Linked DNA regions of Homo sapiens: region 2 is linked to region 1. Evidence: promoter capture Hi-C in human tissues and cell types (Jung and others, 2019). All regions are on one chromosome and are shown on one strand. The core of a region is centred on a gene start or on the middle of the fragment in contact, and the rest is flanking DNA. Distances in the headings are between cores, read along the strand shown.

Region 1 (5,184 bases), core at 1,753-4,252:
GCTGAGGTGAGAGAACCACTTGAACCCAGGAGGCGGAGGCTGCAGTGAGCCGAGATCACGCCACTGTACTCCAGCCTGGGCAACAGAGCGAGACTCTCAGTAAATAAATAAAAACTGAACTCCTGATATCTTCTCCCTGGTTAAACCCACTCTCTTCTATAAGTCTTGCCTATTTCAGCCCAACTCCAAGGCCCAAAACCTTGGTGTCATCCCCGACCCCTTATCTAATCACACATCAGCAAATCCTTCTGGTACCATCAATGAATACCCAGAATTCAATCATTTCTTACCACCTGCACCTAGATAACCACAATGAACTCCTAACCTACCTTTCTCTCACTCCTAAGACCATCTTGTTAAAATGGAAGGAAGAGCAAGTCATTACGCAGCTGAAAACCCTCAACTGGCCGCCCCATTTCTGAGAAAATACCAAAGTTTTACAAGGCCTGTTCTGTTACCTCCACTGCCTTCTCTGGAACTACCCTAGCCTCATTTTCTCAAACCTTCAAGGCATGCCCCATGCTTCTCCAAGGGCTCTCAGCTACATCCTGAGACATATCCCTTACCTGCAATACTCTTTCCATATGATGTGATCTCTGCTTCCTTCAGACTTTACTCAAACATCTCACTCTGCGTGAGGCCTACCCTGGCTGATGTAAAACTGCTACCCTCGGCTGGGAGTGGTGGCTCACGCCTGTAATCCCAGCACTTTGGGAGGCCAAGGAGGGTGGATCACTTAAGGCCAGGAGTTTGAGACCAGCCTGGCCAACATGGTGAAACCCCATCTCTACTAAAACTACAAAAATTACCCAGCTGTCGTAGCCCTTGCCTGTGATTCCCACCTACTCGGGAGGATGAGGCAGGAGGATAGCTTGAGCCCAAGAGTTGGTTGCAGTGAGCCAAGATGGCGCCACTGCACTCCATCCTGGGCAACAGAGTGGGACTCTGTCAGGTCCATCCTGGCCAACATGGTGAAACCCCATCTCTACTAAAAACACAAAAATTAGCTGGGCACGGTGGTGCGCGCCTGTAGTCCCAGCTATTCGGGAGGCTGAGGCAGGAGAATCGCTCCAACCTGGGAGGTGGAGGCTGCAGTGAACCGAGATCACGCCACTGCACTCCAGCCTGTCGACAGGGCGAGGCACTGCATCAAAAAAAGTAAATAAAATTGGTACCCTCTTCCCTAACACAAGCACCCTACAATCCCCATTTTTCTTGCATGTTCATCACTATTTTAAGATACTTTATAATGAGTGGGGCAATAAGTAAAATATCTAGTAATTTCCGTGAGAGCAGGGACTTCTGTGTTTTGTTCACCGCTGTATTTCCAGTACCTAGCTCAATAAATATGTCGGATATCTGAAGGTCCTACCAAAACTCAACCTCTCCCTGGACACCCCTGTCCTCTCTTTGGTTGGCTGCCCCTCCCCCACACCTCATCCCTCCTGTCCTGTTTACTCATTCCCTAAGACCTTCATCGCCTCCACCTGTCCTAAGTTTACTCATTCCCTAAGACCTTCATCGCTTCCACCTGTCCTAAGTTTACTCATTCCTGTCCCATATCAAGTGTCACTTCTCACTTATCTTGGTATCCCCTGCAGCACCCAGCATAGTTGTTGGCAAGCACAGGTACTTAATGTACTTATCTGTATACAGCTGGGCCCCCACTTCACCGCAGCGCAAAAGCATTTGGTACATTCAACTTACAATGGGGTTGCCTGTGGGAACCCATTGCAAGTTGAAAATACACAAAGTTAAACTCGCCTTTTGACTTAGGATATTACCAACTTGCGATGGGTATGGGAAGTAGCCATCAATCCAGGAGCATTTGTATTTATTTTTCAAATGAACTGGATGTACAGGAAACTCGAGAACTTCGATGATAAATTTGGATTCCCCTTTAAAATTACCTCCCTCTTGGGCGTCGTAATTAAAAGGCAATGCGAGCACCTCCTGGGTTCTCAAAATTAGGTTTAATTAGATTCACCTGGTAAAAATGCGGACCCCCCCCCCCCCCCCCGCAGTCTTAAGCTTCTTCAATGAACCCAGACGTCTGTTTTTTATTAGCTTTCTGGTGATTCTGACACACTGCAGAGTTTAAGAACCACCATTCTAGAAGATGGCTAAAAATAGCCTAGGCTCCTAGGCTTAAGTGGTCGCGGGCCAAGTCAAGCACTGTTAAGACACCTGGCGGCAGGCTCAGTCCGCCCACAGCAGGAGAGATCCTCCAAAAAGGTTAAGAGGAAGCCGTCTTCAGGTCAGAAGCGCTGAATTCTAATCCTCTGGCCAAATGACTGTAACCCTGGCCCAGTTCTCTAGCCTCGGTTTGTCCATACTATGGAATTAGGAAGTATACGATTTCTTTTATTCACGCACAACTCACACGGATGCTGCAAGGAGATTAGCTACGTCAAAGCAATGGAACGCTGCAGAAAAAAACGTAAGTTTACTTTCAGATGCAGAGCCCTGGTTTCCCAACCTTGAAGGCGTGCAAGCCAAGAGCAGGTCCTCTGGGAAATCTGGGAGACCTGGGGGAACCCTGACAAATGGACCGGCCCTGGAGCGGGACTACCTCGCCCCCTTTTCCCCGGCTTTCTCCCCCGCACCTCCAGGCCAGTGTCAGGGCCTGCCCCGGGCGCCACAGTCTCCAGCCAGTGCCGGGCATCCCTGCGGTCCAGGCTGGCCTGGAGAGGGTCAGAGCTGCCCGCGAACCGGGGACGCACGTGGCCCGGGCCGGGGGGCCTCCGCCTGCAGGCCGCCCCTCGTCTGGCCTACCTGGGCCGAGGTGCTGAAGCTGCGGCGGAGAGCAGCGCTGGCAGGCCGGGCGAGGGCGGAGAGCATGGCTGGAGCGGGAGGGGCACCGACTGGCAGGCACAGGAGCTGGTGACGGGGAAGTGACTCCAACGACCTCCACACTGCCCAGCGCCTGCTCTCTGGGGCCTCGCGAGAGTGACCGGACTTCCGGTCGCGCTCGCCTCCGGGATCTCGTGAGATCACGGCCACTTCCGGGAGTCGGAAAGGAAAGCTGTGGGACCATCCTGGCAACCCCGGTGTTTGGCTGGGTTCTAGCGTAGCCGTCTGTGTGGCCGGTGGGGGACCTGCGGTCGGAGTGGGAGGGCCAGTCTGCACCCAAGAGGTGGAAGAGGACGGGCTTTAGGCTGGAAGCGCCTTAGAGGAGCCATTTTTCCAGGTGGGGCCCCAGGCAGAGGCTCCGACAGGGAGCCTGGCCATAGTCGCGCAGCCGGGGAGGTGGAGCGCGTCCCAGACCCGAGCCCCCGACCTCAGCCAAACCCATTCCTTCTGCCCTTGGAGGCCAGAGGGGACTCTGAGCTCCGGAAAGGTAGGGTCAGGGAGGCTGAGAGTCCTTAGGCGGGGTGGGAGGAAGGGGCCATCTCCTCAGATCCGGGCCGTCGTTTCCCAAGTTGCAGAGACCCTTGGGTTCAGGTTTAGTGACACCACTGCTGATAATGGCGACCTCCAGCCCTGCAAGCTTTAGAGGACCACTATTCTGTGTTCCAGATGAGCAAATAGGTTGTAGGGACAACAACTTCCGTGGTCATACAGTTCCTGTCTTCTCTCGCCTGCCCGGCAGTGCTCTGACGGTCCCACTGTTTCTGCTTTACGAATAAAGACACTGTGGCTGAGGCCAAGTGGATTTGTAGAGTTTACGCAGACAGAAAGTCGAGTAGAATTCCTTGCTCACAATGAGTTTATTACTTAAATGTATGAATTTATTTATTTTTTTGAGACGGAGTCTCTCTAGCCCAGGCTGGAGTGCAGTGGCGCGATCTTGGCTCACTGCAACCTCTGCCTGTCAGGTTCAAGTGGTTCTCCTGCCTCATTCTCCTGAGTAGCTGGGATTAGCGCACCACTACACCTGGCTAATTTTTTGTATTTTTTTTTTAGTAGAGACGGGGTTTCACCACGTTGGTCAGGCTGGTCTCGAACTCCTGACCTCGTGATCCACCCGCCTCGGCCTCCCAAAGTGCTGAGATTACAGGCGTGAGCCACCGCGCCCGGCCTGATACATATTTTTAAAATTAAACAACACCCCCAGGCAAGGTGGCTCATGCCTGTAATCCCAGCACTCTGGGAGGCTGAGGCGGGCCGATCACTTGAGGCCAGGAGTTCATGACCAGCCTGGCTAACATGGTGAAACCCCATCTCTACTAAAAATACAAAAATTAGCCCAGCGTGGTGGTGTACACCTGTAGCCCCAACTACTCCGGAGGCTGAGGCAGGAGAATCGCTTGAACCCGGGAGGTGGAGGGAGGTTGCAGTGAGCCGAGATAACCCCACTGTACTCCAGCTTGGGCGACGGAGAAAGACTCTGTCTCAAAAAAAAAAAAAAAAAAAGCCGGGTGTGGTGGCTTATGCCTGTAATCCCAGCACTTTGGGAGGTCAAGGCGGGCAGATCACCTGAGGTCAGGAGTTTGAGACCAGACTGGCTAATGTGGCGAAACCCCATCTCTACTAAATATACAAAAATTGGCTGGGCATGGTGGCGTGTGCCTGTAGTCCCAGCTACTCAGGAGGCTGAGGCAGGAGAATCCCTTGAACCCAGGAGGTGGAGGTTGCTGTGAGCCAAGATTGTGCCATTGTACTCCATCCTGGGTGATAAGAGCTAAACTCCGGCTCAAAAGCGCGCGCGCGCGCGCGCGCACACACACACACACACACACACACACACACACACACACACACACACACACACACACACACACACAGCAGATAAGCTGAGACATGCTGGAAGAGTAGGTGTTTCTCAATGGAACATTCAACTCCAGAGGAGGGAAAGATCCCTTGCCTTGGAATCAGAATTCTCAAAGGAGGGGCACTAGGGCCTGAGCATTTAACAATGGGAAATGTTTAGACAGGAAAGGAGGAGAAAAAAGGCCAAATAAAATCCTAGCGGGAAAAAATAAGCATAGGCCAGTATTCAGGGGACAGTGAATAGATCATTTATTTTGGAGTGGGGACATTAGGGCAAGCAGTGTCCTTTGTTTATCTTATCACTGACTGCATCTTCTGGTAATTATTTACTCCTCTGTCTTGTAACTGAGAGCACCTCAGAGCCAGGTATTAAGTCTTGCCAGGTACTAAGTCTTTCTTCTGTTTTTTTTGTCCAACATGCGACTGGGCTGAAAGGGCCTCAGTGAATTTGTGGAGAGTTGAGTGGTTTTA
Region 2 (4,736 bases), core at 1,556-4,055, 530 kb after region 1:
CACGTGGCCAATAAAGAATTTTTTTAAAGGGGCTAGGAATAACCCATAATACTCTCTTAATACATGTGGCAGTTGCGTTAAATCTTTTAATAGTTCCCATAGTATGTCTCTTGCGTGCTCATTGTTTTGAAGAAACTGTGTTGGTTATCCTCAGTTTGGATTGTGTTACCCTTGTTTCACCTTTAGCAAATTTTTAAAAAATATCTCATATGCCTTGTAAAATTGGTAGTTTGATCTAGAAGTCTAATCAAGTTTATGTTCAGTTCTTTTCACACAACTATACCATATGTGGCATTTGTCTACTTCTGGAGGCACGTGTTACCTTCTTTGTTTTTGTGAAGTTAAGAACTATTGACTGTTGATTATTGCTGTGATTTACTAGTTCATTAGGGGAGGCAAAATGGTGATCTGCTAATTCTACCATTTATTCTTTATTTACTAGCCAAAATACGTTTCTTTTCTTTTCTCTTTTTGGAGACAGAGTCTCACTCTGTCGCCCAGGCTGGCGCATTTATGGCTCACTGCAGCCTCAAACTCCTGTGCTCAAGTGATCCTCCCACTTCAGCCTCCCAAGTAGCTGGGAGTATAGTCATATGCCACAATGCCCAGCTGATTTTTTAATTTTTAGTAGAGACAGGTTTCTCTTTGTTGCCCAGGCTGGTCTTGAACTGGGCTCAAGTGATCCTCTTCTTTGACCTCCCAGTGTTGGGATAATAGGCATGAGCCACCACAGCTGGCCTAGAATACTTTTCTAAAGATAAATTTCTATTCTTTATTTGTTTATGTAATTCATGCAGGAAAGACAGTTTCTATAATATTGAGTAGGCTTCTAAGCAGGAAGGTTTTTTTGTTTTGTTACCATCATGAGCTCATGGGTTTAAACAGATAGTAAATATTTCAGTACATAGAAGTTGTGATTCTTTTTGAAAATTAAGTGGTTCCATCTTTGGCCAGACGGAATCCCTTTAAGTTGGTTTCTGAGTCCTTTTGAAATATATTTGATATATTTGATAGCAAATGTATACATATAATATATATTTGATAGCATTATTTTCTATTTAGCATTTTATTTTGAAATCATTTCAAATTTTCAGAAAAATTGCAAGGATTTTACAAAGAAATCCCAGACACTTCCTTTTGTTCAGACACTTCATTCTTAACATTTTCCCACATTAATCATTTATATGCATATATACATATGTGTCTATATATATTTTCTGAACTATTTGAGAGTGGGTATGTCATGCCTCTTTACCCTATAAAGTTTTAGATTATATCTCATAAAATCAAGAACATTCTGTTAAATATCCATAGCACAGTAATTGAATTCAGGAAATTTATCATTGATTTAATACTTTTATCTGTAGTTCATTTTCCAGTTTGGCCAATTTCCCAATAATTTCCCTTATAGCAATTTTTAATTTTTGGTAGAAGATTCAGTCTAGGACTGTTAATTGCCTTTAGTTTTCATGCTTTTTAAGTCTGTTTAATATGGATTTGTTCCTCAGTGCCATTATAATATTTGAAGAATACAGGCCAGTGATTTTATAGAAGTCTTTAAATTTAGGTTTCCCTGATCTTTCTTCATGATTAGATTTAGACTGAATTTTTGTCTGGAATACTACATGGAACCTCTTAAATTTATGGCTCATAATAGGATCTGTCTTGGGAAAATTCTGTGCATGCCTGAGAAGATGGCTTGTTCTGCTCTGGTTGGGTGGAGTGTTTGATAAATGTTAATGAGATCAAGTTGGTTGGTTGTGTTGTTCAGGTGTACTATATCCTTGTTGATTGTGTGCCCACTTGTATCAATTGTGGGGGAGAGGGGATTGAAATCTGCTGCAGTTGTGGTTCTGTTTCTCTTTGCAATTTTACCACTTTTTGCTTTATGTGTTATATTAGATACATAAATGTTCAAGGTTATTACGTCCTGTTGATTAATTAACCACTTTGTAAAATGGCCTTCCTTATCCCTGCTAATATTCCAGGCTGTGAAATGTACTTTGTTATTTATGAAGCATTCTTTTGAGTAATGCATGCATGCTATATCTTATTCCATCCTTTTACTTTTAACCTATTTGCATCTTTATATCTAAAGTATTATTTCTTGTAGGCAGCAAGATTTGGATCTTGCTTGTTTTCATCAGTCTGTTTCTGTCTCATAATTGGGGATGTATAAACCGTTTACATGTAATGTGATTATTGATAAAACGAGTTAGGTTATAGTCCACTGTCTTTGCTTTCTTTTAGTCTCATCTTCTTTGTTTCTTTTTAAAATGTCTCTGTTTGTCTTCCTTCCTTTTGATTAGTTGAGAATTTTTTATGATTCTACTTTATATCTTTTGTTGGGTTTTTGGCTATCACACTGTTATTATTTTAGTGAGTTAGAATTTATAGTATGCAGCCTTAATTATCATAGTTTATTCTTAAGTAATATACCATTTTTCTTAGAGTAAGAGAAGCTTACAATAGGACACTTCCATTTCTCTCCTCTTGGTCTTTACACCGTTGTTCATTTCATTTTTACAGGTGGTATCAGTGCCACACACTATCTATTACGTTGTTGTTAATTAAACAGTTATCTTTTATTTGTTTATTTATTTATTTATTTATTTAGAGACAGAGTCTCACTCTGTCCCCCAGGCTGGAGTGCAGGGGTGCGATCTCGGCTCACTGCAACCTCTACCTCCTGGGTTCAAGTGATTCTCCTGCCTCAGCCTCCCTCAGCTGGGATTACAGACACCTACCACCACGCCCGGCTAATTTTTGTATTTTTAGTAGAGATGAGGTTTCGCCATGTTGGCCAGGCTGGTTTCGAACTCCTGACCTCAGGTGACCTGTCTGCCTCAGCCTCCCAAAGTGCTGGGATTACAGGTGTGAGCCACCACACTTGGCCCAGGTATCTTTTAAAGAGATTTAAGTAATGAGAGAAAATACACAGTTACCATTTCTGGTACTCTTCATTCCTTTATGTAAATCTAAATTTTTATTTTCTGTCATTTTACTTCTGCCTGAAGGACTTTCTTTAACATTTCTTCTAGTTGATGATGAATTCTTGTAGGTCTGCAAATGTCTTCATTGTGTCTTTGCTTTTAAAGGTGTTTTTGCTGGATTTTTCTCCACAGTGCTTTAAATATGTTTCTCTGTTGTCTTCCTGCTTACATTTTTTTCTAAGAGAAATCTGATCTCATACTCATGTTTGTTCCCCTATATATAACATGTCTTTTTTTCTTCCCCCCTTATTGTTTTAAACTTTTTATCACTAGTTTTGGACAATTTGATTGCAATATGTCATGGTATCTTTTTTTCATGTTTCTGTTTTGGGGATCATTGAACTTCTTGGATCTTGGGTTTATGGTGTCATCACTTGGGGAACATTTTTATCATTATTTCTTCAAGTACCCACCACCTCCCCTCCATTGATTCTTGTTGCCTGTATATTAGGCCACTTGAAATTTTCCCACAACATACTGTTGCTCTTTATTTGCTTTTAATTCTTCTTTCTCTGTTTCATTTTATGTAACTTCTGTTGCTGTCTTTATATTCACTAATCTCTTTTTTCCACGATGCTGTTCATCTTGTCCAGTATAATTTTCATCTCAGATATTGTAGTTTCTATCTGTAGAAGGTTAGCATGGGTCTTTTTCACATCTTGCCTGTCTCAATTTTTTTGAACATTTGGAATAGAATGATGAACTCTCTCAGTGCTCTGTGCCAGTTGTAAACTCTGTGTCAATTCTGGGCCAGTTTTGATGGACTGATTGTTTTCCTTATGGGTTGTAGTTTCCTGCCCATTTTCCCGACTCGCAGCTCTTTCTCCTCACATCTGCCTCTGTTCTTCTTCCCTGCTCCGTGGCCTGGAGTCACTCAAGGCAGAAGTTGATTGGTTCACCTTGTTTATTTCCCATCACTCATAGATAACTCTACTGCCTGATAATCAGTGCCTTGAAAGCCATTGCTTCAGCCCAGGCGTGGTGGCTCATACCTGTAATCACAGCACTTTGGGAGGCCAAGGCAGGCGGATCATGAGGTCAGGAGTTCAAGACCAGCCTGGCCAACATGGTGAAACCCCGTCTCTACTAAAAATACAAAAATTAGCCGGGCGTGCTGGTGCATGCTTGTAATCCCAGCTACTTGGGAGGCTGAGGCAGGTGAATCGCTGGAACTCGGGAGACGGAGGTTGCAGTGAGCCAAGATTGTGCCATCGCACTCCAGCCTGGAAGACAAGAGTGAGACTTTGTCTCATAAAAAACAAAAACAAAAACAAACAAACCATTGCTTCATATATGTTCTCCATTTTATTTTTCTTTCTGTTTTTGATTTTGTTGTTGTTCTTTGGTGTGTGCTGTTTCAGGTTGGAGGGTATATGCAGTACCTGTTAGTTTATCACACCTGAGGGCAGAAGTCCTCATGTCTCTCTCTCTCTATTTTTTCTAATATATATATTTTTTTCTTTGTAGAGACAGGGTCTTGCTATGTTGCCAAGGCTGGTCTCAAGCTCCTGGCCTCAAGCAGTCCTTCTGGCTCAGCTTTCCAGAGTGCTGGGATTACAGGCATGAGCCACCACACCTGGCCTGGGTCCAGTTTTATCCATGTCCAAATATTTTTTTTCCCTGAGCTGTTTTTGATTTTCTTCCACCTCATATGAACTGTAGTGTCGGCTTATCTAGTTCCAGGAAAAAGCTTTTTGGTATTTTTATTGGGATTGTATATTTATAAAGTAATTTAGGGTAACT

What was found. The method cuts DNA at HindIII sites, captures the fragments that hold promoters and counts their contacts. A contact is called where the count stands out against the background at its distance.
Region 2: a fragment that was not itself captured here is called in contact with the fragment with the promoter of STYXL1 in region 1 in 1 of the 25 tissues and cell types used here (dorsolateral prefrontal cortex).

Annotation. Positions count from the first base shown.
Region 1 is chr7:76,045,818-76,051,001 of GRCh38, reverse strand. STYXL1 (serine/threonine/tyrosine interacting like 1) reads left to right here and starts at 3,002. Exons shown (of 9, transcript NM_001317785.2): 1 at 3,002-3,340. It overlaps MDH2 (malate dehydrogenase 2), which reads right to left and starts at 2,896. Exons shown (of 9, transcript NM_005918.4): 1 at 2,776-2,896. The coding sequence starts at 2,841. RefSeq lists enhancers at 1,965-2,746, 3,022-3,101, 3,212-3,301, 2,747-3,529 and a silencer at 2,612-2,771. The HindIII fragment of the contact is 5,088 bases long and covers 241-5,184 here.
Region 2 is chr7:75,518,863-75,523,598 of GRCh38, reverse strand. It overlaps the pseudogene PMS2P3. Among named protein-coding and RNA genes, the nearest start is that of SPDYE5, 29 kb to the right of the region's middle. The HindIII fragment of the contact is 4,690 bases long and covers 461-4,736 here.